Regions from separate parts of the Homo sapiens genome. Here all the other regions are linked to region 3. The links are contacts of gene promoters, found by promoter capture Hi-C in blood cells and fetal thymus (Javierre and others, 2016). All regions are on one chromosome and are shown on one strand. Each heading gives the region's core, a stretch centred on a gene start or on the middle of the fragment in contact. The rest is flanking DNA. Distances are from core to core; before and after follow the strand shown.

Evidence for each region. The method cuts DNA at HindIII sites, captures the fragments that hold promoters and counts their contacts. A CHiCAGO score of 5 or more calls a contact.
Region 1: a fragment that was not itself captured here is called in contact with the fragment with the promoter of FBLIM1 in region 3 in 1 of 17 cell types (activated CD4 T cells); the score reaches 5.3 in activated CD4 T cells.
Region 2: the fragment with the promoter of HSPB7 here is called in contact with the fragment with the promoter of FBLIM1 in region 3 in 10 of 17 cell types (erythroblasts, megakaryocytes, M2 macrophages and 7 more); the score reaches 7.7 in erythroblasts.
Region 4: a contact is called between the fragment with the promoter of CLCNKB here and the fragment with the promoter of FBLIM1 in region 3, in 17 of 17 cell types (M0 macrophages, neutrophils, activated CD4 T cells and 14 more). The highest score is 20.8, in M0 macrophages.
Region 5: a contact is called between a fragment that was not itself captured here and the fragment with the promoter of FBLIM1 in region 3, in 1 of 17 cell types (activated CD4 T cells). The highest score is 6.6, in activated CD4 T cells.
Region 6: a contact is called between a fragment that was not itself captured here and the fragment with the promoter of FBLIM1 in region 3, in 1 of 17 cell types (neutrophils). The highest score is 6.1, in neutrophils.
Region 7: the fragment with the promoter of CELA2A here is called in contact with the fragment with the promoter of FBLIM1 in region 3 in 1 of 17 cell types (naive B cells); the score reaches 5.0 in naive B cells.

The regions. Positions count from the first base shown.
Region 1 is chr1:16,198,874-16,202,664 of GRCh38, forward strand. It overlaps ARHGEF19 (Rho guanine nucleotide exchange factor 19), which reads right to left. Exons shown (of 16, transcript NM_153213.5): 13 at 3,543-3,701; 14 at 2,909-2,988; 15 at 277-381. Among named protein-coding and RNA genes, the nearest start is that of ARHGEF19, 12 kb to the right of the region's middle. The HindIII fragment of the contact is 4,968 bases long and covers 1-3,791 here.
Region 2 is chr1:16,016,686-16,020,688 of GRCh38, forward strand. HSPB7 (heat shock protein family B (small) member 7) reads right to left here and starts at 1,358. Exons shown (of 3, transcript NM_014424.5): 1 at 1,080-1,358; 2 at 389-522. The coding sequence starts at 1,278. RefSeq lists enhancers at 160-906, 907-1,651. The HindIII fragment of the contact is 15,911 bases long and covers 1-4,003 here.
Region 3 is chr1:15,757,286-15,760,966 of GRCh38, forward strand. It overlaps FBLIM1 (filamin binding LIM protein 1), which reads left to right and starts at 1,510. Exons shown (of 9, transcript NM_017556.4): 1 at 1,510-1,563. RefSeq lists an enhancer at 3,319-3,681. The HindIII fragment of the contact is 4,964 bases long and covers 1-2,956 here.
Region 4 is chr1:16,041,812-16,045,591 of GRCh38, forward strand. It overlaps CLCNKB (chloride voltage-gated channel Kb), which reads left to right and starts at 1,971. Exons shown (of 20, transcript NM_000085.5): 1 at 1,971-2,069; 2 at 2,675-2,781; 3 at 3,747-3,780. The coding sequence starts at 2,682. The HindIII fragment of the contact is 13,884 bases long and covers 1-3,780 here.
Region 5 is chr1:16,255,217-16,258,870 of GRCh38, forward strand. FBXO42 (F-box protein 42) reads right to left here. Exons shown (of 10, transcript NM_018994.3): 5 at 1,390-1,543; 6 at 495-605. Among named protein-coding and RNA genes, the nearest start is that of CPLANE2, 20 kb to the left of the region's middle. The HindIII fragment of the contact is 4,911 bases long and covers 1-3,654 here.
Region 6 is chr1:15,316,951-15,320,772 of GRCh38, forward strand. FHAD1 (forkhead associated phosphopeptide binding domain 1) reads left to right here. Exons shown (of 34, transcript NM_001391957.1): 10 at 874-978. LOC124903852 (a long non-coding RNA gene) reads right to left here. Exons shown (of 2, transcript XR_007065481.1): 2 at 1-459. Among named protein-coding and RNA genes, the nearest start is that of FHAD1-AS1, 25 kb to the right of the region's middle. The HindIII fragment of the contact is 2,508 bases long and covers 905-3,412 here.
Region 7 is chr1:15,454,593-15,458,226 of GRCh38, forward strand. CELA2A (chymotrypsin like elastase 2A) reads left to right here and starts at 2,140. Exons shown (of 8, transcript NM_033440.3): 1 at 2,140-2,201; 2 at 2,494-2,582. The coding sequence starts at 2,162. The HindIII fragment of the contact is 8,750 bases long and covers 1-3,634 here.

The DNA of each region.
Region 1 (3,791 bases), core at 1,188-3,687, 440 kb after region 3:
CTCAGCTCCAGGAAGGACCCTGTCTTGAGCTGTCTTGCAGATGAACTTCTGACCTGTTTTTCCTGATATCCTCTGAAAGGGTATTTCCCACTCTCCCCCATCACTCTCCATCCTATATCTTTACAAGCAGGAAGTTCCTCCTCTCATCTAACCTGATTCCCACATGCTGTGGCAGATCAACACTTGCAGAACCTTTCCCTGTGATATCTTAGTCATCTAGCCACCTCCTGCCCACCCAAGCCCCATCAGGGACACTTTCCCAGGAGGCCCCCTCACCGTCACTGGTCCAGGTCCTCACTGACAGGATGTCAGTCTTCTCCAAGGTCAGCTCATCTGGGTGCAGTGCCTTGTATGTCCTAACACACTGAACCTGGGGGCAATCTGACAGCCCAAGGGAGGCTCAGGGAGTCCCAAGGGCAGGATGGCAGGGGGAGGAGCATGGGTAGGGCAGGGAGGGGCAGTAGGAGGAAGTAAGGGGGTGGGAAGGTGGCCATTGAGGCTTCTATTCCTCTGCCACTGCCATGCCACAGGCCCACGTTCAAGCAGGCATACCCTCTGCCCACCCTGGCCTATCTCCTCTCCTACCCTAAACACAAGTGCAGGATTAATCCAGTCCCTCCCAGCTTCAGTTTCTGCCTCTATACCAAGGGCTGTCCCCTCCCCAGCTCAAGCCAACACCTTGCTTGTGACCTTCAGACCCCAACGTCCAACTGCCCCCAGATACCCCACAGAAAACAGTAACGGCCCTGCAATGTGCCCCTAACATCACTCTGGTGCTCCCTTTGGCCCATCCTTCCCAACTGGGATTCAAGCTGCATCGCTCCCGTTTAAAGCCCTCCAGGGCTTCCCAGTCCTCTTAGAATAAAATCCAAAGTCCTCCCTAGGCCCTACAAGGCCCTTCATGGTCTGGCATCGCCCCCTGCTATCCTCGTCTTCTCCCCTCCACTTTCCCTCCCTACTCTCCCCTCCACTTTCCCTCCCTACTTTCCCCTCCACTTTCCCTCCCTACTCGCTCACAAAGCTCCAGCCACACCAGCCTCCCTGCTGTTCCTCACTCTAAGCTCCCTCCTGCCCCAGGGCCTTTGTGCTGGCTCTTCCTTCTGCCAGATGCTCTTCCCCAGATCTTTTCGTGACAACCTCTCCTCATCCTTCAGGGGTCAGATGTTAATTGCCAGGGACCTCCCCTGACCACCTGGGAATAGAGAGCTTACCCCCACCCAGGTGGGACTCCTAGCTCAAGCCAGAGCATCTACCCCCTTCCTGGTCCTCAGCTCTTTTCATTAGACCAGGTGGGCTGGTAGCATCCAAAGCCACAGACTGAGGGGCCAGACCTCGCTTGAATCCCAGTTCTGCCGCTTACTGGCTGTGTGACCAATTTACTTCACCTTCTAAGCCTGAGTTTTCTCAGATATGAAAAATGTCTACCTAGTAGGGTTGCCATGAGGATTAAATTAGATTTAATGCAAATACAAGGCCCCTAGCCCTGGGCCTGGCCTATGGCAGGCGCTCAGTGGGCATGAGTGCCCTTTCTTTCCCTTTACTACCTAAAGCTCAGCCCTAACTCCTCTGCTCAAAAGCCTCCATTAAGGCTGGGTGCAGTGGCTCACACCTGTAATCCCAGCACTTTGGGAGGCTGAGGCAGGTGAATCACTTGAGGCCAGGAGTTCGAGACCAGCCATGGTCAACATGGCAAAACCCTGCCTCTACCAAAAATACAAAAATTAGCTGGGCATGGTGGCAGGCGCCTATAATCCCAGCTACTTGGGAGGCTGAGGCAGGAGAATTGTTTGAACCTGGGAGGTGGAGGTTGCAGTGAGCCAAGATTGTGCCATTGCACTCCAGCCTGGATGGCAGGGTGAGACTCTGTCTCAAAAAAAAAAAGCCAGGCGTGGTGGCAAGTGCCTGTAATCCCAGCTACTCGCAAGGCTAAGGCATAAGAATCACTTGAACCCAGGAGGTGGAGGTTGCAATGAGCAGAGATTGTGCCACTGCACTCCAGCCTGGGGTACAGAGTAAAACTGTGTCTCCAAAAAAATAAATAAATAAAGGCCTCCAATAAGCCAGGCACAATGGCTCATGCCTATAATCCCAGCACTTTGGGAGGCTGAAGGGAAAGGATTGCTTGAGTCCAGGAGTTTGAGGCCAGGCTGGGCAACATAGCAATACCCTATCTCTACAAAAAATAAAAATAGAGGTGTGGTATCCAGGTGTGGTAGTGCATATCTGTGGTCCCAACTACTCAAAAGGCTAAGGCAGGAGGATCACTTGAGCCCAGGAGGTTGAGACTACAGTGATCCATGATCATGCCACTGCACTCCAGCCTGGGCAATACAGCAAGACCCTGTCTCAAAAAAACCCCAAACAAACCTTCAATAGCTCCCTAGGGACACTATAGGAAGGCTCTCTATGATTAGGTCGCACCCTGGCTTACCAGCCTCACTTCACACCCAAAGGAAAAACCTTTATTCCAGCTGAGCAGATGCCTCACCTGCCACCACTACCCCCACCACCCCTCATACCCTGGCTCTGGCTGCTTCTTGTCTTGTTTGCAACTGACGCAAAGATGGAGACAGACCTGGGCTCTGGTCTCGGCTCTGCTACTTACTGGCTGGGTGAACTTACACAAGTCCATTTATCTCTGAACCTCTCTTCTAACTTGTAAAACAGGGGTGAAATGGGAGGCTACGAAGGCTTTATGATCTCCAGGATGCTGCCTGTGGACACAGAGTCCACCTGTGCTATGTAAGTTCTGCCCAGCCTTCAAGGTTCCTCAGAGCTACCCCTGACTGCCCCAGAAGTTGGTCTCTCTCCCCATAGCCCTGCCAGCAACACAGCACCCAGGATGGGAGGGGAGGAGAGCGGGCGAGGGTCCAGCCCAGGGATGTAAGCAGCAGGGATGAGCTACTACCTTCCCCCTCACTGATGACCTCCTTGTCCTCCTGGGGGCTGGAGGGGCACAAGGCTGAGATCCATCGCTGCTTCTCACTTCTAGGGAAGGGGGAGGCTAAGTTGTCACAATATGCAAAGTGCAGTTGCCCAGGGCAGGGTGCTGAAACCAAGGCTGGGGGAGCCAGACATGATGTCCAGGCCTAGGACCCAGGCCTACCCTAGGGACCCATGTCTGCCCCACCCCAGGGCCCACCCCACAACCCGGTTCCCAAGCCTGTGCCCCACCCAGCTCTGAGCATAACAGGCCCAGAACCCCCTGGATGCCAGCCCTACCCCCATCCTGCCTAATGCCACAGTCCTGAAGCCAGAGATAGCAGGGTGTGGAGGTTTACATCCAAGAGATGCCCAGAGGCTGAGGAGGAGGTGGCAGCCCCCTGACACCACCTGTGGGGCAGGCACCCCTACTCTGGCCTCCAGCCCTGCCCTCTGCCCCTGTGTCCTGCCCAAGTCAGGGAAGAGTTGAGCACTTGGGGAGGAACAAGGCCAGGATGTCCCAGGGGTGCCCGCCATGGGGACGGGGTGCCCATCATGGGGACGGGGTGCCTGTCATGGGGAGGGGGAGCCTCCTCTCTCCCATATCCAGGCCCACTCACTCCGTCCGGGCCCGCAGCAGGAACTGGTGCTTCATGTGCTGCCCGTGGAGGAGCTGGAGGAGGAACACGTGGCCGGGGATGCCCTGCAGCTTCAGGCTCAGGTCCCGCACCTGCAGCTCAGCCATCTTGGCATGGACGAAAACGGCAAACTTCCCTAGCCTGGAGGACCGGGGGAGGGGAGGTCAGCCTGGCCTGGGCCCTGGCTCTAGGCACCCACCCTCGGGATCAGGTGGGTTCTGACTGGAAGTG
Region 2 (4,003 bases), core at 108-2,607, 260 kb after region 3:
CTACCCGCATCCGCCCCCCTATAGCTACCAGAGGAGCTGTCCTCACTCTGCCATCACCATCTCACACCTGTCATCTCCCACCCTCAAGCCCCACCCCCTCAGGCTCCCTCTGCCCACATCCCTCCATCCCTCTCCCATTCCTCGGAGGCTCCCTCAGCTGCTCAGGCCCTGGAAGAAAGGATCTGGGAACCTCGGTGCAAAGAGAGGCAGTGAGGGGGCCCCATGGCCATGGGTTGCAGGGACAAGGCCTTCAGTTAGCCCTGGGGGAGTTTGGGTGGGGAAGGGACACTGGCCAGGGTCTGGGGTCCCAGGATGGTAAGGGGGAGTAGGAGACATTGGAGGCAGGAGCAGAATTTGGGATGCGGTGAGTAGGGGGTGGGGGGCTCACCTTCTCAGCCCGCACCTCGATGTGGTTGTTGGAGGTGGTGACAATGATGTCTTCAGGTGAGAAGTCTCTCACGTCCACCGCAAACTCATAGGCGTCTCCTAGGGTCTTGATGTTGCCTGCCCCACCGGGGCGGGCTGTGGGATGGGCTGCTGTGAGCGAGGCATGGAGCAGGCCTTGCATGCAGATCCGGGGGTTCTGGCTCCTTCTCTTGGGGCAAGGGGCGGCTCCCCCAGGCCCTACCTCCCCCCTAGCTGTTTCTCCCTAAGCTCCTCCTCATTCCTACAGCCCACCTTTTCTGGGGTGGGGGTGGGGCCTCACCCAGCACAGTGTGTGTGTATATGAGGCTAGGTCTGTAACAACCCCACCCCAGGCCTGGAGCCTGGGGGCTGCCCCCCACCGCTCACCCATCCAGCCCTCCAGGGCTCCAGCTGGGATTGGCTGTGGTTACAGAGCATGGGTGGCCATGGAACCATGTCCAACCCCCAGGGCCACAACTGTTCCTTAGAGGCCCACCTGTTTTCATGGCCACATCTGTCCCTGTGGCCACATCTGTCTTGGTGGCCACACATGGCTGCAGGCTGTGCAGCACCTGTTCCAGGCCGACCGGCAGCCACAGCGCCTTCGGTGGCGCCCTGGAGCAGACGTCCCCTCCCTGTGCACCTCCCCTCCCCTCAGGGCCCGGATCACTTGCCTGGGAAGGCCAGGGGCTCCGAGTGGGGCCGCATGAAGCTGCCAAAGTCATCGGAAAACATGCTCAGGGCCTTCTCCATGGGCGGGTCCTGGGCCGGGAGAGCACGGGAGGCCGAGGAGGAGGTGGAAGAGGAGGAGGAAGAGGAAGAGGAATGGAAACTTCTCTCCGCTCGGAAGGTGGAAGAGGTTCTGTGGCTCATCCACGGACGGCGCCGGGCCCTGCCCAGGCGGGCGAGGGCTGGACAGGAGAGGGTGTGGGCGCAGGCCTCTGGGCGAGCGTGCCAGGCTCCGACTGCGGCCGCTTTATAAGGCCGACTGTCCCTGGGCTTGGGGCCAGCCCCTTGTCTACTAGCTAAATTTAGGCCTCTCCATGGCCCAGAGGGGGCTGGAAATCTTCTCCCGTGCGCCGGCCCTGCTGACAGCCCGACACGCAGGCCGAGAGGGCTGAGCTCACAGCCTGACATTCCAGGCTGATCACAGCAGCCCCAGGGGCCTCCTCACCACTGCACAGGGCTGGATCCTGTCTCCTTGCCACTCGGACCTCGGTGCCTGCCCCAGAACCTTGCAAGTTTGGGGTTTATTGTGTGTTTTGTTTCCCCCGTCAGCCTGGGGGCTCCTGAGGACTGTGCCTCCCCTCCAGACTCTGGTTCTCCTCCACGGCTGTACCTCCTCCATCAGTGTGCAGGCTCCTTGGGGACAGGGTAGGTGGAAGCACCACCGCTCTGTGACGTCAGGAGCTCCTTCCCTCAAGGCAGACAACCTTCACAGCCCATCTCTAAGGAAAGGTTGAGCCCTGCCAGGGGGTGTAAAATGTGCAGCTGTCCCCTGCCAGCCCCCATGGGGACCTGGATTCTGTGCCTGCACTCCCTCTGACTCTCAGAACATTCAGCAGCCCCAAGAGGACAAAGTTGGCAGCTTTCTCCTTAAAGGTCTAGAAGGTTGTGTTCCCGGCAACTGTCTGCTCCATCTCTGTGTCAGAGGTGATGCCTGCGAGCGCCTTAGGTGGGATTTCAGTCAGAGGTAAAAGAGAATTCCGGAAGACAATTATTCTAGCCCTGAGTTCTAGAATGCCTTCTGGGCATGGGCTCCTGGCTGCAAGCTGTCCAGCACGGCCCCGTTTGATCCCCACACAGCTGGGAGGGTGGAGGGGCTCTTCCCATGTTACGGACGGGGAAGCGAAGCCTCTTGGAAAGGGCGGGGCTCGCAGTTGCGTAAGTGGCAGAGCTGGGATTCGAACCTAGATGTGTTGGACCCAAAGCCCTTCAGAGGCCGAGGTGGTTTGAACATGTGCCTATGGAGACAGGCTGGCCCGGAAGAGCCAGAGAAGCCCCTCCCTACCCACCTGCTTGCTCAGCAAAGCTGGGACTGACCTTGCCCTGGGCCAGGGTGGAGGCCATTCTGAGAGGCGGCCAGGCCCTCTGCTCTGCCCAGGTTGCAGTTAAGGGCCTCTGCTGTCCTCTCCAAATCCGTCCCTTCCGTCCCAGATCAGCTCCAATGCCTCCTCCCCCAGGGAGGCCTCTCTGACTGCTCCTGCTCACATGGGCCCACACCCAGTCCAGATGCCCCCAGCACTGACTGTCTTTGTCCTCCCACAGCACCTGGCAGTGTGACATAGTCTTCCTGTGTGCTGTGACTCTCTGCTGTGTCCCTTCTTCCCTATCCAACTGGCAGTTCCCACGGGGGCGAGGGTTCACCTGTCTCCCCATTAGATTGAAGGTTCTTGAAGACGGGCAGTTTCTCTTTTGTCTGAGCCCCCTACAACCCAGTCTGGAGCTTCATCCTGGAGAGCTCCTTCTACAGGGGTATTAGCGGTGCTGGTGGTATGTGGAGTGGAAGCAGAGCAGGGCACAGGGCACAGCGGCGGGCCAGGCTGTTGCCTGGAGCAACAGGGCCTGTTGCCTCTGGCAGAGTTTCCTGCCCGTGTCGGGGCCTGTGACACCCAGCCTGGCTGAGGGGTTTCTAGGGCAGCTGGGAAGCCACCAGCACTGAGGTGAGATGGAGAGAGGGTGGGGCGGGGTGGGGGGCCCAGAGCCTGCCGCTCGCCAGGGAAACAGGAGCCGGTGGCTAAATGCAGACACACTGTCATGGTGCTGAGGGCCTGAGTCACTGCCCCTGGATGTCAGATCCCGTTACCCACCCCCGCCCACCATTCCTCCTCCCCTTTTTCCCCCTTCCCGAGGCATCACCCACACAAATACTGGATCCTCTGGCTTCACTGACCCAGAGGGACCTCAAAAGGTCATCAAGGACATTCCCCTGCCTCTACCTTCAGATCACAGAGACAGAAGGAGCTACAAAGATGATGCAGTCCTTTGAATCCCAGTCACCCAGGAGAGCTTTTCACAAACACAGACCCTTTCCTTGGACCCCAGGATTTTGATTTGGGATCTGGGGAAGGGACCTCACATCTCTTCCCATCAGCTCCCCACACAGCCAGCTCATAGGCCAGTGATGAAGCCCTCATCACTCAGTAGGTATTCATTGAAACCTTGCTATAAATAGGTGCTGGGCACTGTTCTAGGCTCTGAAGGACTCAGAGATGAATAAGGCAGAGACAGGCCCCTGCTTCCAGGCTCACCTCATCATACAGAAGAGGAAACTGAGGCTCTAGTTGATGAAAGAGTTAGGGTCAGCAGAGCTGTGCTGGCTTCAAACCGGTCATCCTGCTGAGCCACCCTGGCTGCCCTCTTCTCAGCCTCCTGGTGCACACAGGGCTGGGGGGTGAGGGTAGATGTGGACGTGCAGTGCTGGCTGTGGGACAGTAGCCAGCAGCTGCCCCAGACCAGACACTGGAAATCGGGATGTTGACAGGGCAGCCAGTTCTGGTGCTGTGCAGAGTCAACAGGTCGGGGTGGCCAAGGTGAAGGTGGGCTCGAGTCCATACAGAGCGGCAACTCCCATCCCACCTCCCACAACACACATCTT
Region 3 (3,681 bases), core at 260-2,759:
GCGGCTCTGGTTTGAATTTGGCTCTGCCATTTGCCCCTAGTGTGGCCTTGAGCCTCTCGGGGCCTCAGTGTCCTTGACCGTGAACAGGAATCATCAGCCCTGGTGCTCATGGCTCTTGTGGGATTAGGATGGGGATGAGGATGGGTACCAGCACCTAGAAAGCCCCTATCAATGGCAGCTCCTGGGACTGCTGCTGTTACTGCAGCTTGGCTGAGAGGATCAAATGGGAAAAGGGGCGACAAGAGGGATGGGAGGGGCGATGATCAGTGGGTGAGGGCGGAGGCAGCCTCCTCTGACCCTCATAAACCAGCCTCCCTCAGAAACAGCCCCAGAGCCACCCTGGAGGGGTGACTGTAGCTGAGGGGTTGCAGGACGGGCCAGATCCTGTCTGGCCACCCCGCAGATGGCGCTGGGTCCAGCGCTCCTCAAGCCTCAGCCACTGTGGCTTTAATCAAAAGAACAATCTGTCTGCCTCTGAATCAGACCCAGATTCCTTTCCCCACAATGTCCCTGAGGCCTCCAGGGACCCAGGCAGTCCATCCCGGCCCCATCCCGGGCCCCAGAGTCCAGGCTCTGCCTCCCCTCCCGCTCCCGTCCTAATTGCTCCAGCTGGGAGGGGGAGGGTCACTGGATGTGGAGGGAGGGGTTCAGCCACAGGGCCAGCCGGGCCCTGCCTTCCAGAGCTCCTGGAGCGGCCTGTCCCCCGGGACACCGGGACCCACCTGCAGAGGGCTTACCGCTCAGGAGAGCAGAACAAGGTGACCTGCTCCACTGGGGGTCTCCGAGACCCCCACCCTCAGGAACACTCCCGGAAAAAGCCCCCAACCCAGCATATATTAACCACTATTAATCACAGTCCTGGCTGTAACTGTCACCTTTTATCCTCAGGCCAACCTGGAGAGGTAGGCAGTGGCTACCTCCACTTTACAGATGAAGACACTGAGGCTCAGGAGGTGGCGTGACTGCTCCGGGTCTCACGCTTAGTAAACGGCCGCAGAACCCTGGTCGGTTTGACGCAAGACCCTGGCGGATCCCAGAGCCAAAGTAAGCGCTCACCTCCGCCGGACAGGGTAGGTGGGGTTGCCAACCCAGGAGAGCGAGGGAAGGGGGACGGCAGGGACCACTCGGGGTCCATGAAGAACGCGAGGGGATGGGCAGCGGGGAGGGAAGGAAACCCACCCCGACTCCCCATTCTCCTACCCCCACTCCCCATCCCTCCCATTCCCCCATCGCCCCCATCCCCATTCCCCCCCATTCCCACCCCCTGGCCTGTGCCAAGGGGGAGGGGAGGCGTCGTCCAGGGAACAAAGGGAGGGGGAAGGGGCGGCGCGGGGCGCGGCCGGGCAGGTTGGGGGGCAGGTAGGGGCCGCTTCCGCGGGGCGGGAATCCCGCGCCCCCTCCCCCCGAGCCTCACCTTTTATGGTAAAGCGGCGCGGGGCGGCGGGGCGGAGGGAGCCGAGGGGGCGGGGAGGGCGGACGGGCGGAGGGGACGGGAGGCCCAGCGGCTCCGGGCTCCGCTGGCTCGGGCGTCGGATCGGAGCCGCCGGGGCGCGGGCGGCCCAGGTAAGCGGGCCGGGTGGGTGGGGGTCGCGTCCCTCCGTCCCTGTCCCCGGTGCACACAGGTGACAGCGCCGGCAGTGCTCGGCCGGAGCCTGCTCGGTCGCCAGCCGGGACCCCCGGCGCGGCGCCCCTGGAGGGGCCTGCGGGTGGGGGGTGCGGTCCTCACGCCCTTTGCGTCCCAGTCTCTTGGTCTCTCTCCCCGGAGTCGGGGAGTCGGCAGGTCCGGGGCGAGGGCTCAGTGAGGCCGGCGGAGGGCCGAGTCCCAGCCCGGGAGCGGGAGCCGGGGACCCGGCGCGCAGGGCGGAAGCTCCCGCACAAAAGGCCGGAGTCCCGCACATGGATCGAATTAAAGCTCCGGCGGCGCCCAGCGGTGACCCCGGCGGCCGCCCTGCTCGGCTGCCTGCGGAGGGTCCCGCGTTTCCGGAGCCCGGGGGCGCTCCAGGCCCCTTTTCCTAGCCAGGGTCAGGCAAGGGGAGGGACGGGTCCCGGGGCTGCTCCTCTCTGGGCCTCACGCGCCCGTCGGGGGCTGAGAAGGTGTGGAGATGGGCGATACCCAGGTGTGTGCCCTGGGATGATCTTGGCGTCGGCCCCTACCCCTCACCTCCCACCCAAGCCTGAGGACCCCGGGGAGAGGCTGGGGCCGCGCCCAGATTCCTGCTCTTAATGACGCTGTAGGTTCTGTCCGGGTCCTGGAGGCACCCCCAGCCGAGCCCAGCCCCCGGGCTGCTTCTCCCTCTCAGCTGCTGCCTAACCAGCTGTCCTTCTCTTTGCACCTTCCAAGGGCCTAGACCCTGAGTCTTCTTTCCTTATATATCCTCTCAGCCGCCCTAGGGACACACTCATTCTCACTTTATGAAAAAACGAGGCCAGAGAGTTTCTGTGACCTATTCGGGGTCACCCCGCAGGAAAGAAGTGGGGCCGCGTGTGAACCCAGCTCTCTACCTCCTCTGTTTCCCTGGGGTGGGAAAGAGGTTGAGGGAACCCCTCCCCTAAGTTGCAGGGTGGGAGGGGTTGGGGCACACCCCGCCACTTCTGCCTAAATTTAATTCCGTACCCAAAGGTAGACTGCTTTATCCGGTCATTAAAGAACAAAGCTGGCCGGGAGCGGTGGCTCACGCCTGTAATCCCAGCACTTTGGGAGGCCGAGGCGGGCGGATTACCTGAAGTCAGGAGTTGGAGACCAGCCTGGCCAACGTGGTGAAACCCCGTCTCTACTAAAAATACAAAAATTAGCCGGGTGTGGTGGCGCGCGCCTGTAATCCCAGCTATTCGGCGGCTGAGGCACGAGAATCGCTTGAACCCAGGAGGCGGAGGTTGCAGTGAGCCGAGATCGCACCACTGCGCAGCCTGGGCCACAGAATGAGACTCTGTCTCAAAATAAATAAATAAATAACAAAGCTTAAGCCGGGTGTAGTGGCTCAAGCCTGTAATCCCAGCACTCTGGGAGGCCGAGGAGGGCGGATCACTTGAGGTCAGGAGTTTGAGACCAGCCTGGTCAACATGGTGAAACCCTGTCTCTACCAAAAATACAAAAATTAGCCAGGGGTGGTGGCGTGTGCCTGTGGTCCCAGCTACTCAGGAGGCTGAGGCAGGACAATCGCTTGAACCTGGGAGGTGGAGGTTTCAGTGAGCTGAGATTGCGCCACTGCACTCCAGCCTCGGCCACAGAGCAAGATTCTGTCTCAGAAAAAAAAAAAAAAAAAAAAAGAACAGAGCTTAGAGGTGGCCCCAGAGGTTTTTTTGTTTTTTTTTTTCTTTGTAGGGAACAAGGAGTAGGAAGGAGGACTGTGGGGGTGACCCCCCCTGAGCTGCACATTCTCTGCCCCAAGGCTGCAGCCTCTAGCTGGTCTGGGTGGCTGGCTGGATCCCTGCCTCCTTCCTTCCTTTGGACAGGAAATGACTTTCCTTCCCTTTGTTCCCACTTTTCTCCACTTATCTAACTGGATCTGTGATTCGCTCTCTGGGGGAGGAAGAGTGGGGGCGGAGGGTCCCCTGGGCACAGCTGACTGGGAGATGGCCCCAGGGAACTTACACACAGCCTGCTCCCAGCTGAATCGGTGGCAGTGGGACGGGAGGGAAGCCGGGGCTCCCTCTCCCGATGGGATTGACAGGGCTTTGAAA
Region 4 (3,780 bases), core at 721-3,220, 280 kb after region 3:
GCAGTGGGGGTGTAACCATTGGAATAAAAGCAGGGCAGGGGACCCTGCTTCATGTCACCTGCCAGGATGCAAAGTAGTGTGGGGACTCAGTGACCTCTGAATGTGGGTTCTCTGTACCGCCCCGCTCCCACCCATACCTGCCCTGTCTCTTTCAGCGTGCCCTGTCCCCCATCCCGTCCTCAGCTGCTCTGAGGCGAGGGGGCTGTGCAGGTCCTGGGCACCCGACCCCCACTGTCATGAGACAGAGACCCAGGTCTCAGGCTCAGCTCATTTGACAGAGGAGGAAAACAGAGGCTCCGGATGGTGATGGTGTTAGGGTCACAGAGCCGCCCTGGGTTCTCCCCTGCTGTCTCTCTACTGAGCCCCCGCTACTGCTGCCAGGCGACTAATATGGAAGGGGAGAAATTAGGGCTGATGTGGAGGCAGTGGGTTTGGGAGGGACCTGCATTGGGTCCTGCGCCCCCTGGCTGCCCTCTTCTCAGCCTCCTGGGGCACACAGGGCTGGGGGGTGAGGGTGGATGTGGACATGCAGTGCCGGCTGTGGGACAGTAGCCAGCAGCTGCCCCAGACCAGACACTGGGGATCCGGATGTTGACAGGGCAGCCAGTTCTGGTGCTGTGCAGAGTCAACAGGTCAGGGTGGCCAAGATGAAGGTGGGCTCGGGTTCATGCAGAGCGGCAACCCCCATCCCACCTCCCACAACACACACCTTCAATTTTGATTTGACTTGCCTGGCATCTAGGGGCAAAGGGTGGCCCAGGGTCCCAGATTTTAACAATCATCCAAGGGCCATCATGTTATTCAGAGAGTGGCTTTGTCTGGGTAGGACTGGAGGCAATTGCCCCCAACATCTTGCCCCAAAGTGGCATCAGACACAACTCTTCTGTTCTGTGCCCAAACCATTGCCCTGGTTCAGCCTCAGGAGCTGGAGGAGCTTTGGGCAGGGGAAGAGCTGCACAGTGTGGGGCTGGGTTCAGCCTCTGCTGTGTGACCTTGGATGAGTGACTCACCTCTCTGACCATCTACAAAATGGCGAGGCTCTCCCCATTCACAGGGTGTGGGGAGGAGGACTTGAGCTGCGGATGTGACGCTTCTGACACGTTGCAGGCACACGGCACGTGCTTGTTCCTCGCCATGTCCCCTCACACCTGTGCTGCCATCCTCTGTTGGGGTGGGACAAACTCTGTGGAATTACCCAGAAGTCCCCACCAGAGCCGCTGGCCCTTGGACGTGTGCTTTGAGAGGCATTTCCTGAGCCTGGAGGGTCTGGACACAGGATCAAGTCTGAGTTCCTGACCCCAATTCACTGCCTTGCCCCAGGTGTCGGCCTCCTCGCCAGCCCTGGACAAGATGGGTCATCAGGATGGGACCGTGTGGCACAGCCTGCGGGCTTTGGAGCCAGGCAAACCTGGGCTGGGAATCCTGGCGCTGCCTCGGCCTCCGTGATCTTAGACGGGCAGCCCCACCTCCCTGAGACACCATTTCTCTACAACGGGATCACGCTGCCTGCCTCGTGGGATTTCCGTGGGCACTCAGGGTAATTAATCTAGGGGAAGGCTGACTCTCTACCTGGCACACAGGGAGGCTGTGGTCATGCTGGCCCCACTCACCTTTGCCGGCCTGCTTTCTCCTTCTCTGCCCAGCCTCCTCCCCTCTCCCTCTGTGCTTTTCCAAACCTTCCATGTCCAGCTCTGAGACCCCTGGACCCTGAGCCTCAGCCTTGGCAGATGACCCCTCTCTGTCCTGCTGTGTGCGTGAGCTCCCCCTTCCCAGCCCCCGTCCAGCAGCACCCAGGAGCCTGAGTACAGCTGGGCACCACCCTCTGTGCAGCTATGGTGGGTGGGGAGGCTCCTGTTCCCCTCCCTGTTGGCAGCTCTGCTCTGCTCTGCTCCGGCCTGGGCAGTTCTGATCGGTTTTCAAGGACATTCTAAGTGTTCGCCATAAACCCTGGGCCCAGGCGGGAAAGGGGGGAGGATGTTGATTGTTGGAACACACACCTGTCCAGGTGCAGGGGAGCTGGAGGCTCTGTGAGAGGAGGGCCAGCTCAGCCACAGCAGGAGGACTGACAGGTGAGGGGTCGCTGCAAGATGCTGGGGCCTGCCAGGGCCAGACAGGCAGGGCGGGGGGGGGGGGGTGGTAAGGGCAGGAGCCAGCACCTCACTTTGGCCCTGGTGGGATCTTCTTCTGGGCCTGGGGTTTTGCTGCCTCTGTGGCCTGAGCTGGGGTCAGGGGTGCTCATAGGTGGACAGGGAGAGTCAGAGCCATCCATGGGACTCTGCAGTGAGAGTGTCACAGCCCTGGGCAGAGACTGCTCCCAGCAGTGGAAGCGCCAAGTGACCCAGGAGGGTGGGAGCGGCTGCCACCGAAGGGGAAGGGGCTCTGAGCAGGGCTTGGGCTCCGGCCTGTGCCCAGTCTGCTGCTGGACACAGGGGGACACCTAGGAATCCCACCCCCATCCCACACAATGACACACACAGGCACACACCCTCAGTGACGGAAACTCAGGGATGAAGGCACACACAGACCTAGTGTGATAACTTCACATACACACACACACACACACACACGCACAATCTTTCCTCTTCATGGGTGGGGAGAGCACTGGAAGGGCCTAGAGGCAGTGCGAGGACGTGCAGCAGCTCACCGCGGTCCCTCCCTCTATCCGCTTCTCCAGGGGCCTGATGGAGGAGTTTGTGGGGCTGCGTGAAGGCTCCTCAGGGAACCCTGTGACTCTGCAGGAGCTGTGGGGCCCCTGTCCCCGCATCCGCCGAGGCATCCGAGGTGAGAGCCAGGTCCTCTTCCCTTCCCCCTGGAGGACCACTCAGGACATCATTCCTGCCCAGCTCCCACCCCACCTCCCTGCCCAGGAACCACCCTCCTCCTGGCATTTGTCCAGGACATGACTGCCCAAAGTCTCCTGGGTGGCAGGGAGGGAAGGGGTCTGTCTGTCCAGCTGTCTGTGGGTCAGATGGGCCGGGCATCTGCCCTCTGCCTTTCGGGAGATACAGCCCAAGGCCTGGTCACTGTGCCCATCTTCCACCCAGGCCTCTCCCTCACCTACCTGTGCCAATGAGGGGACGTGGGGGTTAGCTGCTGGGACAGCTGGGGCCACAGCAAGGGGCTGGGGCAGCCTACACTTGGCACCTTTCCTTGGAGCCCCATGTGCTTTGTTCACTTTGAGACCTGACTGTCCCCTCAGCTACGGGGCAGAGCAAGTAGGGACCACAGAAGGAGGCTGACTGCAACCCCAGGGGCTGGTGCCCACAGCCAGTGAGGGCCAGCTCCCAGGCTGGGCTAGCAGCCAGTGGGCCAGGAGCATTGCTGGGGACCCAGAGGATACCTGGCGCCACAGGTCCTGGGACACGCAGGAGTCTGCTAGATCCTGGTGCTCTCTAAGCTATGGACTCTGCGGGGATGCAGGTGAAAGCTGTAGCTGCCAGCCCCCTCCATACTCCCTGTCCCCCAGGAACCTCCCAGTACAGGCAGGGATGCGGAGGGTCGGCAGGTCAACGGCTTTCTGGTAGGGGCAGCAGTCCTGGCACCCACTGTGTCACCACTGTCACCTCCCACAAATCCTGCCCGGCCACTTATGTGAGGCAGGGCCCCCTCGGGACTACCCCAGAGTATACCACCAAGCTCCATCCCCCTGCCCCAGCCTCTCTGCCTGAAGCCCAGCAGGCCTCCAAGGATGGGACTGTCTGTGCCTCCTGCCCCACCCTGTGCCGTGACCCCATGCCCTGCCCCAGGTGGCCTGGAGTGGCTGAAGCAGAAGCTCTTCCG
Region 5 (3,654 bases), core at 368-2,867, 500 kb after region 3:
TTATAGAGCAAATTTTTCAATTTATTGGTCTGTGATTAAGGGATTAAAGAACAGAATGCTAGGATGAGATAACTAATTGGATTAATTAGAGCCATGCTCAGGAATACTGACCCTAACTTACTTTTTTTTTTTTTTTCCTTAAGAGTCTCGATCTGTTGCCCAGGCTGGAATGCAATGGGGTGATCTTGGCTCACTGCAATCGCCACTTCCCAGGTTCAAGCGATTCTCCTGCCTTAGTCTCCCAAGTAACTGGGACTACAGGTGTGTGCCACCATGCCCGGCTAATTTTTGTATTTTTAGTAGAGATGGGGCTTCGCCATGTTCGCCATGCTGGTCACAAACTCCTGACCTCAGGTGATCCACCCACCTTGGCCTCCCAAAATGCTGGGATTACAGGTGTGAATTAGGCACCTGGTCCCTAATTCACTTTTAAACCTGTTATTCCCAGGAGTATTTACCTTCAGGCTCATATGGAGCAAACCAAATGTACTTACATTTGCCGGGATCCTAAAGAGCCACCAAAGACAATCATTTTATCATCTATCACACAGGAGGAGTGGCCAGCCATGGGAGGTGGCCCATGGGTTGTCACAATGCAGTTCCACCTAATGTAAAAAGACAGGAGGAAGTCAAGAAGTCAGCACCACACACTTTATGTAAAAATAGTAAGTAGGCATCCATTTAAAATGATAATCCTATCACTTTCAGCAGAGATTTGTTGGGATAATAAGTAGAGGATGGCATAATGTATTTATGCCTTTCCTACAAGTTTGCTTAAAGTTATCTTCTTTCAAGTTCTGAATGTAAACGGTCTGGAGGGAGAGAGATGAGAAAACGATGACAAGAGACAAGATCATGGCTTCTTTGGCCTGGTTTGCTGACAAAGCACCACCTGCCACCTGCTACCTTTCCCTATGGTCCTGATCAGTAACAGCTAACAAGCGCCACGTACTAAGTCTTCCATTACAAGAAACGGCGGTTGCTGTCATTAAGAGATATATGTTTGAAAAACAATTCAGAGTAAGTCTTGGAGACACAGTTAGGAGTAAGGAATCATCTGGATCTACAACACTCCTGGAGTGTTAGCAGCCAAAGCTGAAGAGCTCGCTGTTCTTCAACTGGCTCATTCATTTTTCTTGAAAGAGGAATAAATCTCTTCTATTTTTTCTCTTTAGAATAAGGATTCTAAATGCAGGGTTCTAAGAGAGTCCTGTAAACTCTCTGAAACTGTTGGTAAAATCTGTGAATATGTGCATTTTTCCCCTCCTGGGAAAAGAGTCCACAGCTTTCCATCTAATTCTCAAAGGGACTCTTGACACAAAAAAACAAAGAATCCACTGATTTAAGGCCTTTTCTTCCAGATTTAAAGAGTTTATCTTTGTGACTTACCAATTTTTAGAGGGTGAGTAAGTGTGTATTTCATCAAAGAATCTCTCTGGCTGGTGTAGGGGATAAGGGCTTGGCCGCGTCCAGCCACCAAACAGCACTAGCAAGTCCTTGTACACGACCAGAGTTGCTCCAGCTTTGGGGGAAGGATAGGACCCTAGGGAAAGTCAGTAACACCATGGTTAGCATTCAGGATCTCACAACAATCCGTAGTTAGGCTATCCATAGATCACCTTTCCCTGGAAGAGCAACAAAAGGGGAACTAATACTACAAAGTGTAGAGGAAAGGTGGAAAGAAAACTGGGTTTGAGTCTGAGAGAAAATCATCACTAATTCACACGTCTTTTATTATTAACAGAGAAATATGAGTTAGAGAAAAGTTACTTAGCCTCTCTCATGTTTATAATTTGCTCACCTAAAATTAGGGATGAGAGTACCTATCTCATAAGGCTGTTTTGAGTATTAAATAGTATATTCAAAGCACCTAACATAATGCCTGGCACATAGAAAGTGCTCAACAAATGAGCACCCCTTCCCATCCCTTTAACAAACTTAACAGAGGTCACAAAGAAAAGAAAGAATGTAGAGGACCAGGGAGAAGTATACATAGAGGCTGGATGTCTGGATGCAACTTAAAAATAACTCGTTACAAAACACAGGTAAGAAAAGGAGGCAGGAGGCAGTTCTTATTTGTCCCGTGAGTCAAATTTTAACATAGGGACCTCCAGGCCCCTAGCTATGGGCTTCACATAACCAGATAGCCTCAGCCTAGCACAAATGGGGCAGACCTTCAAGGATTGGTGTGAAGGAATTCCAGTGAAACCATAAGTCTTACACCAAACACCATCTAGACTGGACCTCTGGGCTACACTGACCAAATTCTGAAAAAAAACACTTTGGCTTATGCTGGAAAACTTTAGAGATAACAAATGTCTTACAGGAGCATAATTTTTCAAAATCTATTGTCTTTGAAATAACAATTGCTATTTTTCCCCATCCCTCACTCTACATGTCACCTTTAGTTTCCTCAAGACCAAAGTAACTTGTCCCAATATCCAGGTGTCAGTAAATACCAGAATACTTTTTTTTTCCTTTGGAGGTGGAGTCTCGCTTTGTCACCCAGGCTGGAGTGCAATGATGCAATCTCGGCTCACTGCAACCTCCACCTCCTGGGTTCAAGTGATTTTCCTGCCTTAGCCTCCTGAGTAGCTGGGATTACAGGCATCTGCCATCATGCCCAGCTAATTGTTGCATTTTTAGTTGAGATGGGGTTTCACCATGTTGGCCAGGCTGGTCTCAAACTCCTGACCTCAGGTGATCTACCCGCTTTGGCCTCCCAAAGTGCTGGGATTACAGGCGTGAGCCACCATGCCTCGCTGAGAATACTTTTTTTTTTAAAATCTTTTTTTTTTCTTTTTGGTTAAAGCTGCAGGACTCATTTTTCAAAGGATATCTTAAGCAGAAGAAATCCCAACACTACATTAACCTGACAGCAGTCGAGATGCTCCAATCTAGGTGGAGAGCTTTGCTTCCTCTTTCAGTAGCACATTACAGAACACTGTTTGAAAAGCCCTGCTCAGACTGCTTTAATGGTGTCACTTACAAAGTCTCAAGGTTGAGAAGGTAGAGCAGAGGACTGTCTTTCTTGTGATCTCACTTAGGGGAACAATACGATTTACTGAGAAGGCATCAGTCCTGAAGAGTACAGGGTGAGCATCTAAGAACACCATGTGGCATCAGCTATTTTTCATTTCTTCTTCCTTTTTTTTTTTTTGAGACAGGGTCTTGCTGTTGCCCAGGCTGGAGTGCAGTGGCACAATTACGGCTCACTGCAGCCTCAACCTCCTGGGCTCAAGGGATCCTCCCACTTTAACCTCCCAAATAGCTAGGAATACAGGCAAGCACCACCATGCCCGACTAATTTTTAAATTTTTTGTAGTGATGGGGACTCCCTGCATTGCCCAGACTGGTCTCGAACTCATGGGTTCAAGCAATCCTGCCGCCTTGGCCTTTCGAAGTGTTAGGATTACAGGTGTAAGCCACTGTGCCTGTCCGTGTCAACTATTTTGAATACTTTCATAAATAAAACCAACACTAATCCAGACCACAGGAACTGACTGTAGAAATGAGTCTTTATTTATTTATTAATCTTGAGACAGGGTCTAGCTTTGTCACCCAGGCTAGAGTGCAGTGATGCGATCATGGCTCACTGCAGCCTCGACTTCCTCAGGCTGAAGCAATCCTCTTGCTTCAGCCTCTCGAGTAGCA
Region 6 (3,822 bases), core at 909-3,408, 440 kb before region 3:
CAAGGTGGGTGGATTGCCTGAGCTCAGAGGTTCTAGACCAGCCTGGGGAACACGGTGAAACCCCGTCTCTACTGAAATACAAAAAAATTAGCTGGGCATGGTGGCGGGTGCCTGTAATCCCAGTTGCTTGCTTGGGAGGCTGAGGCAGGAGAATTGCTCAAACCCGGGAGGCAGAGGTTGCAGCGAGCCGAGATCGTGCCATTGCACTCCAGCCTGGGCAACAGAGCGAGACTCTGTCTCAAAAAAAGAAAAAGTTATTTGCCTTATGTAGAAGGTAACCATAAAAATAAATACAATGAAAATAAGACCATTAAAAGTCAAAGGAGGTGTATTCCTGACGCCCTCCGAATCCACCCTGCACATCACCAGGTGTGCGTTTTCCACTCGGGAAGTTCAGCTTCTCCAACTTGCTCTTCCCCACGCCAGCACCGTTCCTCCAGGCCAGGAACATTTTACTCTCTGCCTCAAACAAAAAAGAAAAAACATTTCATTGTTCCGTTCTTCCAGACCTTGCCTGTTGAGTCTTCCAAACAGTTGGCCCTTTAGATTGAACTCAAAAATATAACCCAAGAGCAGGGTTTCAAGTGAGTTGATGGGTGTCCTGTAGTCCTTAATCCAGGAGCTGTACTGACTTCCAAAAGAAACTAATTTCCTTTATCCAGAACTTTTAATATATCAGTCGAAAAATAAAGTCTATTTTGCTGAGAGATGTAAAACCTTCCTCCAGGAGAAGGAATTAAATAAGCTGATACCAGACAAGGTTTCCACCTTAATGGATGGGATGCCAGGGGATGATGAGGGCTCAGACCTCTCAGCCAAGAAGGCAGCTCCTGCCCCCATCAGGGAGGTTCACTCTTGTTGAAACTTTTTCAGCAAATCCAAGACATGGAGAAAGAAATGAAGAAGCTTAGGGCAGAGCTGAGGAAGAGTTGTACTGAACAAAGCGTGATCTCTAGGACTCTGAGAGAAAAAAGCAAGGTACGTAGTGGACAACAGGCCCAGAGAGTGGTGTGGGCGGTAGCTCCCCACTCATCATCCCTGTTAGTCCTCTAAGTGGACTATGCTGGTATTAACCCTTCTTACAGCTGAGAAAACTGAGGCTCACACAGGGACAGGGACCAGGTTCACTGCATAAAGTAGTTGTGGCAGGACTTGAACCCAGGTTGGTCTGACTCCAAGGCCCCTGTGAGTAACCCCACTACTCCTCACTGCCTTCTAAAACTGTTTCTTGCTTTTTGGTAATGAGACCCACCTCTGGCCTCCCAATCCCAGTTTTGAGTTTCGTGTTGCTTAATTATTTTAATGTCCCTTCCCATCATGGGAAAAAAAATTGTATTGCATACTCCAGACCTGCGCTATCCATAACAGTAGCCACTAACCGCGCATGGCTATTTACATTTAAATTAAAGCCGGTAGCTCACGCCTGTAATCCCAGCATTTTGGGAGGCTGAGGCAGATGGATCACCTGAGGTCAGGAGTTCGAGACCAGCCTGGCCAATGTGGTGAAACCCCGTCTCTACTAAAAATACAAAAATTAGCCAGATGTGGTGGCGGAGGCCTGTAATTCCAGCCACTCAGGAGGCTGAGGCAGGAGAATCACTTGAACCTGGGAGGTGGAGGTTGCAGCAAGCTGAGATCGTGCCACCGCACTCCAGCCTGGGCGACAGAGCAAGACTCCGTCTCAAAAAAAAAAAAATTTAATTAAAAATAAATAAAACAAAACGTTGCTCCTCAGTTGCCAGCCACGTTCCAAGTGCATAGTAGCCACGTGTAGCTGGTGGCTGCTGCACTGGACAGCACAGATATGGAAATTTCCATCAGCACAGCAAGTCCTATTGTTTTAAATTAATGGTGACCTCTTTTAGCAACATAACCAATTGAAGAGTTGTATAAAAGATGCTTATGGATCACACATTTATTTTAATTTTTTTAACTGAAAATATCTTCGAGAGTCCTGAGCAGTGTGGACAGAATCTCTTTCTTTCCATTTGAATCATCTAGTTTATTTGATTAGAAGATGGTTGTCATTGAGAAAACTAAGAATTTTTTTTTTTTAATAAATAAAGACAGAGCTTCACTATGTTGCCCAGGCTGGTCTTGAACTGCTGGCCTCAAGCAGTCCTCCTGCCTCAGCCTCCCAAAGTGCTGGGATTACAGGTGTGAGACACCACGCCCAACCACAACTGAGAATATTTTAAGAACAAATCTAAAAGGCAGAGGAATTCTATGTGAAGGGAGGTTCTCAGGGATGATCTGAGAAATAAAAGCAAATAATCTATTTTTCTCCAATTTTATTTAATATGAATGTGAGTATAGTCAGCAGAAGTCAAATCATTAAAACCTCGTGAGCTGAAATGTATACTACACAAGGATCACATCTTATGGATAGTATTGAAGCCTGCAAAAGTTGGCCAGACATAAGTAGACTTGGCAGAAATAATTAACACAAAATTAAAATCAACAGTTAAGACTATACAAAGTAAAATTTATTTATCAATTAAAACTTAAGAGAAAAATCAAATATTCTTGTCCAGGTGCAGTAGCTCACGCCTGTAATCCCAGCACTTTGGAGGCCGAGACAGGAGGATTGCTTTAGACCAGGAGTTCAGGACCAGCCTGGCCAACACAGTGAGGCCCTGTCTACAAAAAATTAAAATAATCACTTAAAAAAATCAAATATTCTTGAAAAAGTTTAGACTTGTAAAATATAATATGGGGAAAATGGACATGGTAGAAATGAAAACTACAAAATAAAACACAGACAGACAGACCTGTGATTGGTAAATATTTGATAGGGTCCAGAAAAACTTATGGATGAATCAAATCATAATTGTATAATTTGCCTACAAAAGAACTGATCCAGATCAAAATAATTTCAGGAGACTAAAGTGAAAATGGAAACATTTGGAAATCTGTTAAACAACTGGCTTAATGAACTTTGCTCTAGAAAATACCCTCTCAATGAAAATGAACTTGCTATGGTATATTTTTCTTTTAAATAGTTGTAGTCATGAACATGGAGTCAAAATGCTCTCTGGGCTATCAATTTTTCTCTAAACAAGGCTTTGGCTGCATTCCACAAGTCTTAGTACGTAGTATTTTCGTTATTATTCAGATCAAAATATTTTCCAAATCCCTTTGTGATTTCTTCTTTCACCCATGGGTTACTATGCAGCTTATTTCCTAATTTCTAAATATATGAGGGTTTTCTGCTTACCTTTTTTGTTACTGATTTTTAGCTTAATTACACTGTGGTCAGAGAACATTTTCTGTGTAACTTCAATCTTTTGATATTAATTGAGACTTGTTTTATGGCCTGCATGTGGCCGACTGCAGTTCCACGTGCACACTTGAGAAGAATACGCATCCTGCAGTCATTGGGTTTAGTATTCTGTATATGGACATTAAATGAAGCTTGCCGATAATGCTCAAAACTTAAATGCTCTTGTTGATTTTTTTTGTCTGTGTGTTTTGTCAGCCACTGAGAGAGGCATATTGTTTGAAGATCCTAACATGATTGTGGATTTGTCTGTTTCTTTTTTTAATATTGTCAATCTTTGCTTTATATATTTTGAAGCTGTGTTAGTAGATGCATATGTATTTACCATTTCATTACTTCCTATCGAATCAAATCTTTGGCTATCACAAGATGTTCCTCTTCATTGCTAGAGATGTTTTTCCTTTAAAGTCTTTGTCATTAAGGTAGCTCCATCAGATACACTAGCTTTCTTTTGATTTGAGTTTTCATAGACTATCTTTTTCATACTTTTTATGTCAATCTTTATTTTACAATGTGTATCTCATGTGAACAGCACATAGGTT
Region 7 (3,634 bases), core at 890-3,389, 300 kb before region 3:
TTACAGGGATTATGGGATGGAGTTGGGACTGGAATCTACATCTTCTGACATCCAGTCCCATGGGATGCTGCCCCCCACCCAATCTTTCTCACCTTTGCACCATCCTAGGGAGATTGCAGAATTCTTTCCCACCCATTTTCTTACCCGTACAACAATCCTGCAATCCAGGCCTGGATGGTTATCTAGGAAAGTAAGGCCCAGAAGATAAGTGGCTTGTCCAGACCACCACACTCAAAATTGATGGATCAAAGACTTGAACTCGGCTGGGCGCGGTGGTTCATGCCTGTAATCCCAGCACTTTGGGAGGCCGAGGCGGACGAACACGAGGTGAGGAGTTCAAGACCAGCCTGGCCAATATGGTGAAACCCCGTCTCTACTAAAAATACAAAAATAAGTCGGGTGTGGTGGCCGGTGCCTGTAGTCCCAGCTACTAGGGAGGCTGAGGCAGAAGAATCACTTGAACTTGAGAAGCAGAGGTAGCAGTGAGCCGAGATCGCGCCACTACGCCCTAGCCTGAGTGACAGAGCGAGACTCCGTCTCAAAAAAAAAAAAAAAAAAAAAAAAAAAAAAAAAAAAAAAACACTTGATATCAAGTCTTAAGAGTGTGGAGCTGGTCTTTTTTTTTTTTTTTTTTGAGATGGAGTCTTGCTCTGTTGCCCAAACTAAAGTGCAGTGGTGCGATCTCAGCTCACTGCAACCTCCACCTCCAAGGTTCGAGAGGTTATCCTGCCTCAGCCTCCTGAGTAGCTGGGACTACAGGCATGCAGCCCCACACGCTACTAATTTTTGTATTTTTAGTAGAGACGGGGTTTCACCATGTTGGCCAGGCTGGTCTTGAACTCCTGGCCTCAGGTGGTCTGCCCGCATCAGCCTCCCAAAGTTCTGGGATTATAGGAGTGAGCCACCGTGCCCGGCCGTAAAGTGCATTTTCATCCACCAGATGAAGCCCTCCTCTGCCAGCGTTCTGCTTCCCCCCATCATTAGAGTGGCCAGATCCTAATTGTGCATGTCGGCCTTGCCTTCTGCTACATGTGCACCTTCCCCGCATTATGCAAATTCTGCTACATGTGCACCTTCCCCACATTATACAAATCCTTACCACAATGTTGTGAAACAATACTGGGCATGGGTTTCTCTCCCTGTTTCACAGATGGGTCTAGAGACTTACATGACTCAGCCAAGGTCACATTGCAACCCCTGGTATGGCCTAGAACAGGCTTTCTCAGTCTCAGCACCATTGACATTTGGGGCAGGGCGAGTCCTATTGCCCAGTGCATTGTCGGGTGTTTAGCAGCGTCTCTGCTCTCTGCTCCCTGCCCACTGGATGCCAATTTACATCAACCCCAGCCATGACAACCAAAATTCTCTCCAGATGTTGTCAAACGTCTCCTGGTGGGCTGAACCAGCCCCATTGAGAAATACTGCCTTAGAATGCTGTGGGCTCAGCATGCCACCTTAATCTTTTCATTGAAAACACAACTCCTGGCCGGGCATGGTGGCTCAGCCTGTAATCCTAGCACTTTGGGAGGCCGAGGCGAGCAGATCACTTGAGGCCAGGAGTTCGACACCAGCCTGGCCAACATGATGAGACCCCCCGTCTCTACTAAAAATACAAAAATTAGCCAGCAATGGTGGCACACACCTGTAATCCCAACTACTAGGGAGGCTGAAGCAGGGGAATTGCTTGAACCCAGGAGGCAGAGGTTGCAGTGAGCTGAGATCACGCCACTTCATTCCAGCCTGGGTGACAGAGCAAGACTCCATCTCAGAAAGAAAAAAGAAAGAAAGAAAGAAAGAAAACACAACTCCTCTCCTCAGTCTTACCCAGGGAGGGGAACAAAAACAAACAAACAAAAAAAAAAACAACTCCGAGCACCAACAATTAGTATTTTTCTTCCTTCCCTAACACACAACATAATCTCTTCAAAACAGATGGAACCCATATTCCAATATCTACCTTTGGCATCTTTTTCAAAGTATTTCTAGGGTGACATTTGGGAGGAAATGGGAAAAAAAAAATATTTGGACACAGCTCTTTTTTCCACTGGGCTTTGAGAAAACCCCATCTTGCGTGCTCTTACTGTATCTCTCACTGATAAGTCCGCTCATAAAACCAGGGCCTTATCCAGGGCCACGCTTACAGAACTCCCACGGACACACCATGATAAGGACGCTGCTGCTGTCCACTTTGGTGGCTGGAGGTAAGTCCTGTTACCCAGAGGCACTGGTTTCCCATGCCCTGGTGGGGCTGGAAATGGGATCTTCCTGTCCTCCCCTCTCGCCCCCACCCAACCCCTACTGCATTCAGACCTATAATCATAAGAACATTGGAATGGAGTTTCAAAGAATTGGAGCAAAGAGCAGGATTCTATGACCTCTTGGGATCCTTCTAGAACAAGGGTTTTCTATTTGGGGGGTCAGAATGCGCAGCAAGTGTAGTTTACATTGTGTGGGTCGCTGCTTCCTGACTCAAGACCCTTTCTCTTTTCACAGCCCTCAGTTGTGGGGACCCCACTTACCCACCTTATGTGACTAGGGTGGTTGGCGGTGAAGAAGCGAGGCCCAACAGCTGGCCCTGGCAGGTGAGTTGACCACACTGTACTTCTCCCCGTCCCTGCCCCACTCCCTTTACATCTCCCCTTTGCCCTTCCACCATGGCGTCTATTGTGCTGGCAAAGTGAGTATTGATGGGACTCAGAGAGCAGCACAGGCAACTTTAGCAATAAGATATATTTCCGGCTGGGCGCAGTGGCTCATGCCTGTTATCCCAGCACTGTGGGAGGCTGTGGTGGGCAGATCACCTGAAGTCAGGAGTTTGAGACCAGCCTGGCCAACATGGTGAAACCTGCCTCTACTAATAATACACAAGTAGCCAGGTGTGGTGGCACACGCCTGTAATCCCAGCAACTGGGGAGGCTTAGGCAGGAGGATCGCTTGAACCCAGGAGGCAGAGGTTGCAGTGAGCTGAAATTGCACCACTGTACTCCAGCCTGGGCAACAAAGCAAGACTCTGTCTCAAAAAAAAAAAAAAAGATACATTTCTGTGGCCTTGGCCAACCTTGGGAGTGGAGGGAGAGGTGCCTCCTCCAGCTGCAGTAAGGAGCTGTCCCCTCCCCACTGCCCATAGGCAGCAAATATAGTATTACTCTATTAACCAATCAGAGGCTTGTTTACAAATGTACCATCAGTCTAGGAACCATTCAAGACTACCTATGCAAACATTCCTTGCTTTAAGGAACCAATCAGTGCTATTTGCGCAGATTAATCTTTAACCACAGGCAAATCAATGTTACCAATGAAAAAAATGTTTTCTTAAGTTGATATAATCATAGTGGTATCAAGACTAAACTGCCAAGTGGGGCACAGGTGTAAATTACTCAGACGTGTTAATGGTGGGGATTTTAAGAGAAATGTGTAAAGTTTACATTGACATAAACAAATATAGTGAAATCTCATTTATCTGATGTAATTGGGACCGAGTAATTGAAAAGTTGGTTATAAAGAAATTATTTTAAATCATATATATATAGTAAAGATTTTATCTTAGACTATGTAAACAATTTTTTGAGTTCTTAACTGTCTTTTTCATATAAGCCATGCCCCATATCTTATCTACAAACCCGTTTCTTTAAAG